Regions from separate parts of the Homo sapiens genome. Here region 1 is linked to region 2. Evidence: promoter capture Hi-C in human tissues and cell types (Jung and others, 2019). All regions are on one chromosome and are shown on one strand. The core of a region is centred on a gene start or on the middle of the fragment in contact, and the rest is flanking DNA. Distances in the headings are between cores, read along the strand shown. Region 1 overlaps PRKAG2 (protein kinase AMP-activated non-catalytic subunit gamma 2). Region 2 holds the start of CRYGN (crystallin gamma N).

What was found. Contacts are between HindIII fragments. The study calls those that stand out against the background at their distance.
Region 1: a fragment that was not itself captured here is called in contact with the fragment with the promoter of CRYGN in region 2 in 2 of the 25 tissues and cell types used here (H1 embryonic stem cells and bladder).

What each region holds. Positions count from the first base shown.
Region 1 is chr7:151,698,878-151,702,765 of GRCh38, forward strand. All of the region lies in intron 3 of PRKAG2 (protein kinase AMP-activated non-catalytic subunit gamma 2), which reads right to left. Among named protein-coding and RNA genes, the nearest start is that of PRKAG2-AS2, 110 kb to the right of the region's middle. The HindIII fragment of the contact is 7,961 bases long and covers 1-3,888 here.
Region 2 is chr7:151,438,636-151,442,308 of GRCh38, forward strand. It overlaps CRYGN (crystallin gamma N), which reads right to left and starts at 1,506. Exons shown (of 4, transcript NM_144727.3): 1 at 1,262-1,506. The coding sequence starts at 1,282. RefSeq lists enhancers at 285-785, 786-1,286, 1,998-2,534. The HindIII fragment of the contact is 10,973 bases long and covers 1-3,673 here.

The DNA of each region.
Region 1 (3,888 bases), core at 909-3,408, 260 kb after region 2:
ACCTATCCAGATGCAAGGACTTGGCTCTTTGGACCACTCCAAGCCACCCTGAGATGCCACGTGGAACCCTAGGAAAACCCACCTCTGCAAGAAGGTCCTGAAATCAGGTAACTTCTCGCTACAGTGTAAATGACTGATAGGCTCAAACGGGCCGTGGGAGGGTTTCAGGACAGGGTACAGGAAATGACCTGCAAGTCTGCAGAGCCAGTCTGCAAACTCTGGGGAGCACCCCTCAATGCCCTTAGGCCACCTTTCCTTCTCTGACCTCTGTCCCCATCCCTGCCCCAAGTTGTGTCTCTTTGACACCTGGGATGTAAGCTGTGAAAGCTAAACTGCACTGTAGTTGGAGACTCTTGAGAAACCGAATGAACAATATTTCTGAAGATCTCCCACGAAGGTTGCCTCCCTCCCTGCGGTCAGGCTGCCTGCAGGCCTAGTCCCAGCAGATCTCCGGGAGATGCTGACTGCTGGCCGGATGCCTGTGTGGTTACGATCCGGTTACATCTCAGCCCCCTGCTGAGAAAGAGGCGCTAAGGTGGCCCTGGAGCCGTGAATTCACTGGGATTGAGATCATCTCGGCGACTTTATCATGAAGGCCAGCACAGGAGGCCCCTCCTTCCTGTTGGAGATGTTTAGTTTTATGATTAAGAAATGGCAAAGGGCCTTTCAGACTACTTTTGCTTTGAAATAAATCAGTGAATCAATGAGATGAGAAGTATTCACTGGGCACCGGCTGTACAGGGAAGAACTGGAAGTGGGATATGCAGTGCCTGGGCTTGGGGTAACAGAACCCAGCCTACGGGCCAGAAAGAAATGCATGAGCCATTAAGACAGTGCAGGAAGCATCTGATGGAGGACACGTCAATCTTTTCATCAATCATTGAAAGCAGGACGAGGAGGCTGGGACACAGCAAGGTGCTCAGGCCCTCAGAGGAGGCAGTGGGGAGGTTCTTGATATAGGCTGGTCTTTAAGAAGGACTGGGACTAAGATAAACTGGGGTACATAGCGGAGGAAGAAGGGAGTAGAGGGGCAGTGCTCTGCTGCCACAGGCGGCCGCAGATGGGTGCCCCCACATTGCAGAAACAGCCTCAACAGGAGCCTTGTGTACCTGCCAACATTTTGCTGCATACAAGATTAATGAAATAGTTCCACTGAAATCTGGTGATGGAGTTCTCGGCAATGTGGTTTTTGTCCTGTCATCTCATAGGAAACAGGTCTTTGAATAAGTCATTGCATCATTGCAAAATGATGTTTCCTCCCCAACAAGGGAAATCGGGGGTGACGTTTAGCAGCTCCTTCTGCAGCAGTGTTTTAAGTTGAGTGGCTAGAAAAGAAAGAGGCGTATTATACGCCGGGCTGTGTTCTGGGTGCTGGGGACAGTGAACACGACAGAGAAGAGCCCAGCCCTCGTGGAGCTCAGGTTTGTAGACTCTGGCTCCTTGGAGTATGGTCTGAGGACCAGCAGCCTGTTTGTTAGACACGCAGACCTCCAGGCCCCCACCCCAGACCTACGGAGCCTGAATCTGCCCTTTGACAAGACTCTTCAGTGACCGACAGACACGTCAGGGTGAGATACGCGGCTGTAGGCCAGGGGTTCCGAATTTTGGCAAGAATCAGGACCCCCTTTTTAACGCAGGCTTGTGAATCTGTGGATTTCTGAGCCCCACCCTCAGAGATTCAGATTTGGGAACTGGGATGGAGGTCCAGAAATTGGCTTTTCTGATGAGGTTCCAGGTAATGCCAGGCCTGCCGGTCTGGGGCTCACACCCTGAGAGCCACCTGCTGTAGGAGATCATCTGAGTTCTGGGAGAAGACTGGGGCTATCTCCGCCACGCGTCCCAGGCCCTGGAGAAGCTGACGGTAGCTTCCAGGCTTCCCCTTATGTGGCCAGGCCATAGTTCCCTTAACCTCCCACACCCATCCCCTCCACACGGGGGGAGCCTGGCCTTGTGCCGAACCCCAAATAATCCTCAGTGCTTGGCCTGCCCGTTTAGAGGTCAAACATCCATGCAGAACCCATCCAGCCTGCCCGGGAAATCCGAGCAGGGATCACACAGGATGTCCCAGGCATTTCCACACAGGCGAGACCACAGAGCATTATGCAGCCTTGATGTGCCAACTGAGTCATGCAATGTGCTGCACACACGAGCACCCAGCAGACGCCTGTCCTCTCCTCCCCTCAGCTGTCAGGCACAAGAGTCCACCCCCTTCCACCTCCCACTCCTCAGGGGCTGCCCCCCAGGGAAGCCCCACTGGAGCAGGCACCTGACCCAGACCTGAGGCCTGCGTCACTGGGCCGGGGGAGGAGGAGGTCTGAACAGAAACACTAAATTAGCCACCTTCTCCCTCCAGTCTCTACCTGTGCTGTCCAAGAGGCAGCCACTGGCCTCACATAGCTATTTCTTTATAAAATTCAAGTTCAGCTCCTTAGTTGCTGTTATGGGTTGAAATGTGTCTCCCCAAAAAGATACAATGAAAACCTCACCCTGGTACCTGTGCATGTGACCTTAGACATAGGGTCATTGCAGATATAATCAAGTTGAGATGAGGTCATACTAGGGTGGGTCCTCATCCAGTGGCCGGTGTCTTTATAAGGAGGAGGAAACGTGGACACAGATACACAGGGAGATGGAAGCTGAGATTGGAGCGGTGCATCTTTTTAAGCCAAAGAATAAGGATTGCCGGCCGGGCGTGGTGGCTCACACCTGTAATCCCAGCACTTTGGGAGGCCGAGACGGGCAGATCGAGAGGTCAGGAGATGGAGACCATCCTGGCTAACACGGTGAAACCCCATCTCTACTAAAAATACAAAAAATTAGCCGGCCTGGTGGTGGGCACCTGTAGTCCCCAGCTACTCGGGAGGCTGAGGCAGGAGAATGGCGTGAACCCGTGAAGCGGGGGTTGCAGTGAGCCGAGATTGCGCCACTGCACTCCAGCCTGGGCGACAGAGCGAGACTCTGTCTCAAAAAAAAAAAAAAAAGAATAAGGATTGCCGAGAACTGCCAGAGGCCAGGAGGCAGGTGGGGAGCAGGTTCTCCTTCAGGGCCTGCAGTAGAAACCAACCTTCCCACACCTTGACTTCAGCCTTCTGGCCGGCAGAACTGTGAGAGAGTCAGTTTCTGCTGTTTGAAGCCACCCGGTGTGTGGTGCTCTGTTGTGTATGGTAGCCCTGGGTGCTAATCCAGCTGCACTGTCCGTATTTCCAATGCTCAACAGCCAGATGTGGCTGGTGGCTACCAAGATGGACAGCATGGATACAGAACACTTCCCCCTGTGCGGGGAGTTCGATTGGAGGGTGGTGTTCTGCAGAATGCTTTCTAAGAAAGAAGCAAAGGTTAAAAGTTTAATTTTCAGAAAAAGTTGCTGGGGTAGCCCAGTTGCATCTTCCACATCCTTTACATCCCTAGTGCCGGTCCCCCAAAAGAGAGAGGAGGCCTCATCATCAAAGGGACATCAGTAGGCACACACTGACTCTCTTCCCTGACATGAGAAAGTCCACCTAGACATTCAGGCCGGAGCTTTCGTCCATGCTGACAGCAGACGGATGGGGATGCAGGTCCACACTGATCCTGAGAGTCCCACCCACAGAGGGAGCCCCCACGGCAGTCTTGCCAGGTCCCTGCCCACCCGCTTGCCTTCCTTCCCCTATCTCCTCTCCCCATCTGCCAGGAAGCCCATCAGGGCACTGCCAGGTCCGCTCTGTACACAGACAAATGCAACTTTGAAGTTTCACACTCACCAGTTGGCAATGCATTCCTTAGGATGGAGGCATTCATAGTCCCAAGAATCCCAAGTTAAAATACTCTCAGGAGAAACACCAAGTCCTGTTATTGGATAATAAGACTCTAGCATGAATTAATGATCAGAGTGAAGGCCTGGGGGGCACA
Region 2 (3,673 bases), core at 256-2,755:
TTTCAAAAGAAGAAATTTCACCCACAACCCTCTCATGGTAACCCAGCATATATTTTGCAGAAATTCGGGTTCCTGGGATTGGGCCTCCTTCACTGGAGAGGCTGAATGGGCCGAAGCCGCGTCAGGGCCTGGCTCGGGATTAATGTTCGCAAAAGAGGGCTTATAAGTGCCACCCTGTCTCTCTGTGTTTTGTAGGTCACTCCTTTGGGTAGCAGGCATGTATCAGATCTGGAGCTCCATCACCCTGCTGGGAGTTCAGACATCGTGTCTTATAGCTACGTGGCACTCACAGGTTGTCCTTGTCCCGAAACAAAACAAAGTGAAGCAATAACAACCCGCCAGACTCATTTCCTGCTGTGGAACCTAAAATCTCAACCATTTAGTAACTCTTTGGGTTTCAAGAACTGTGGCCCTAGAAGGGTCCTGCCAGAGTGCAGTGATGTTCCCCATCACTATGGTCGCTTGTGCCTCACCAGTGTCTCCAGTTCGCTCAAAAGAACACGAGAATTGCCCTTCCAGGCCCCTTGGAGTCAGGCGTGGCCACATGCGTTCACCGGAAAGGAGGCAGACACCTTGGCGTTCTGCACCCCAGAGTTACTGGGGCCCTTTGTTACTGAAGCATCACCTGGCCCATGCAGACTGATACAGCAACACAGTCACCCCCAGACACTCTGGAATGTGGCCTTGGAGACCAAAGGCTTCATGGGAGTGGCTAGGCTAGGGGCACTGGAGAGGGCGAGGGAGAGCCAGGTCTCCCGTCCTTCCTGCACCAGGCACGGCTGGTAGAGGGCCCCTGAAACCTTCAGGGAGGTCTGGGCACCAAAGGGATTCGGGGCTCCCTCAAATCTCAACATTTTTCAGAGAACCAGCCCTAAGTGTCCCTGAAGAGACCCTGGGAAGGAAAAGCCATAGAGGCCAGCCTTGGGCAAAGAAGCCGCAGCAGTGGGGCGGAGGGCTGTGGGACAAGCCAAGCCTCCCCCACCCCAAGGAAGCCCCAGGGAGTCTGAACACCCTCCCTGCTCCTGACTGCAGGGCGAGGGGTTGGAATCCCAGAAGGAAGGAGTGGAGATGGAGACCTTCCTATCCATCCACACCAGAGAGGCCCCAGGCCAGTAGCGAGGCCACCCCATTTTATTAAGAAATTAAACCAGCTTCCCTTGGATTTGTCACCATCAACAGTGTGCACCCTCCTGCATCCCCTAGCACAGGGGGCGAAGGCGGAGCCCCACTCGGTTTCCTTGGGGTTGAGGGACGCACTCACCTTCCCCGAGCGCTGCGCCATGGTGCGCCCCGCCCCTTCCGCGGGTCCCCGTTTACACCGGGCAGCGCCCTGCTGGCTCAGCGCCGCCCCGGACAAAAGATTTGCTGGGCCGGCCCCGGAGCGTTAGTGCTGTCGGGCGTGCTAAGCCCGAGGGGCCACCAGGCGGTTGGGACCCGCCGCGGCCACCCTGTGCCACCGCGAGTGCAGCCCGCCCTGCCCGGGGTCTCCCTGTGCTCTCCGCGTTTAGCTCCCGAGCCTCCTTCCTCCCTGAGCCCTCCCGCCCAGCCCGCGGCTGCCCCTGCCCTGCCCTGGAGTGGTGGGGGGAGGAGGGGAGGTGTCTCTCTAGCCCTCCAACCTTTCTTCCCCTGCGCTGCCCCTCAGCCCTCACGCCCATCTCCCTCCCTCCCAAGGCCTGTTCCGAGCTCCCCAGCCCACTCCCCTTTCTCACCTGGCTGCAGGTAGTCTCGCCTTGGTGCCAACTTGTTTGTCTCCACGAGGATGCAACCCAAGCTTCCCCGGACAGACAGACAGCCCTTGACCGCCCCTCCCCTGGCTGCTCTGGTCTGAGCTCCCAGGTCCCCACCTTAGACCTCCGGCTCCAACTCACCCAGCTCCTGATGCACCCCCCCACACCCCACAAAACGCCAGGCCAGGTCAGGCCTCCCTCCTCCCGCTCTCTTCCTGCCTGCCTCCCTCCCTGGCACTCTCCCTCCCTGGGTCCCTCTCTCCTTGAAGATCCTGCCTAGGGTGACCAGGTGACCCGCGCTGCCCTGAGCTGGGGGTACAGTGCTCTGCCCCTTGCCTCTCTGCTGCACCAACTAAGCCACCCTGGACGCCCAGGATCAGTTTACAGCACAAAGCAGCCCCACCGCGGAGGGAGAGTTCCCCAGGGCCCAGAACGAGCACTTGGCAGACAGCAGAGGCTCAGAGATTGTGGAGTGAGCAGAGCGAACATGGAGCCCACAGGATGTGCAGCCCCCACACGGCTGGGGAGATGAGCTGGGAACACAGGACTCATGACTCAGATGGCTGGGGTGGTGGGGGACAGGCTCTGAGATCAAAGGAGAGAGGGGCAGGTGCTCCACAGGGGCTTCTGCTGGAGGGGAGGGAGGAGCTTTGGGGAGGAGTTTGGGCTGCTCTTCCTTCAAACAGTATATTTTTATGACCATTTCACAGATGAGACACTGAGGCCCAGGAAGAGGAGGTTATGTGATTCTTGGGGCAGAGGGGTGACCTTGCCTCTGCTGTGGGAGGTTTTCAAAAGTAGACAGGGTACAAACCAGAACCTGCATGTCACCCTTGAACCCAGGGACGGTCCTCCCTAGGGACGCCCCTCCCTAGGGACGCCGCCCAGCTGCCTCCACTGGCGCCCTTACTTGCCAAGCCACACATTCCAATGTTTCTCTCTGGACCTGGGCCCTGGTGGGGACATAAAATTAAAAACAAAATCTCCAGCCAACCCAGAAAACTTCTCCACGAAGGTAGAAGGAAAAAAAAACAATTTTATTATTGAATAAACTTTAAACTGGAATGCGATCTGCATCACGATCTCTCCCCTAAGAGATCGCAAAGATGGAGAGAGATCTCACTCTTCTGTAGCCAAGCAGACACAACCCACTGCATTCATGTTTTCAGGATAAAATTGCTGATTTTCTTGTATCTCTATGACTGGAGGTGGGTTTTGCAATTTGGAGTCAGGTGACAGCTGAAGTCAGGCTTCTTAGGAAACGGGGAGGGTGGGGGCACTTACTCCTTGATGTCAAGACTCAAAGAGGCTCCCAGAGGAAACATGACTGAGTTGTTAGACTGGCAAGAGGCTTGTTTAGCCATTAAAAAGATTTACACACATTTGAAAATGACAGAGAAGGAAATTCTGCAAGAAAAGGGAGGAAAGGGAAGCCTCTTCCCTTATTTTCAACAGGGAAAAATAAGCCTTAAAAAAAGGTTTTATTTTTTAGAGCAGCTTTAGGTTCAAGTTGAATTCAGCAAAAGGTACAGCAATTTCCTGTATACCCCCTGCCCCTACACACACACACACACACACACACACACACACACACACACACACAGAGCCTCCTCCACAATCAGCGCCCCCATTAGAGTGGTACATTTGTCACAGCCGATGAACCTATGTTATACATCGGGATACAGGATGAGAAGTTGAGAGAATGCGGCGTAGACTTTGTTAAAATAACACATTTTTAAAGCCTCCCCACATAATGTGGTTGATTTTTCACAGCTTGCTACTCTTTGTCCAGTTGAGTATGTAAGTGTTTGACTCTTAACTTTTTCTTTGGGTCTTCATCTCCTTATAAGGGCTCCCATGCCACATAAAACTTGTATTAAATAAGTTTGTATGCTTTTCTCTTGTTAATCTGTCTTAGGTCAATTTATTTCTCAGGCCCAGCCAGG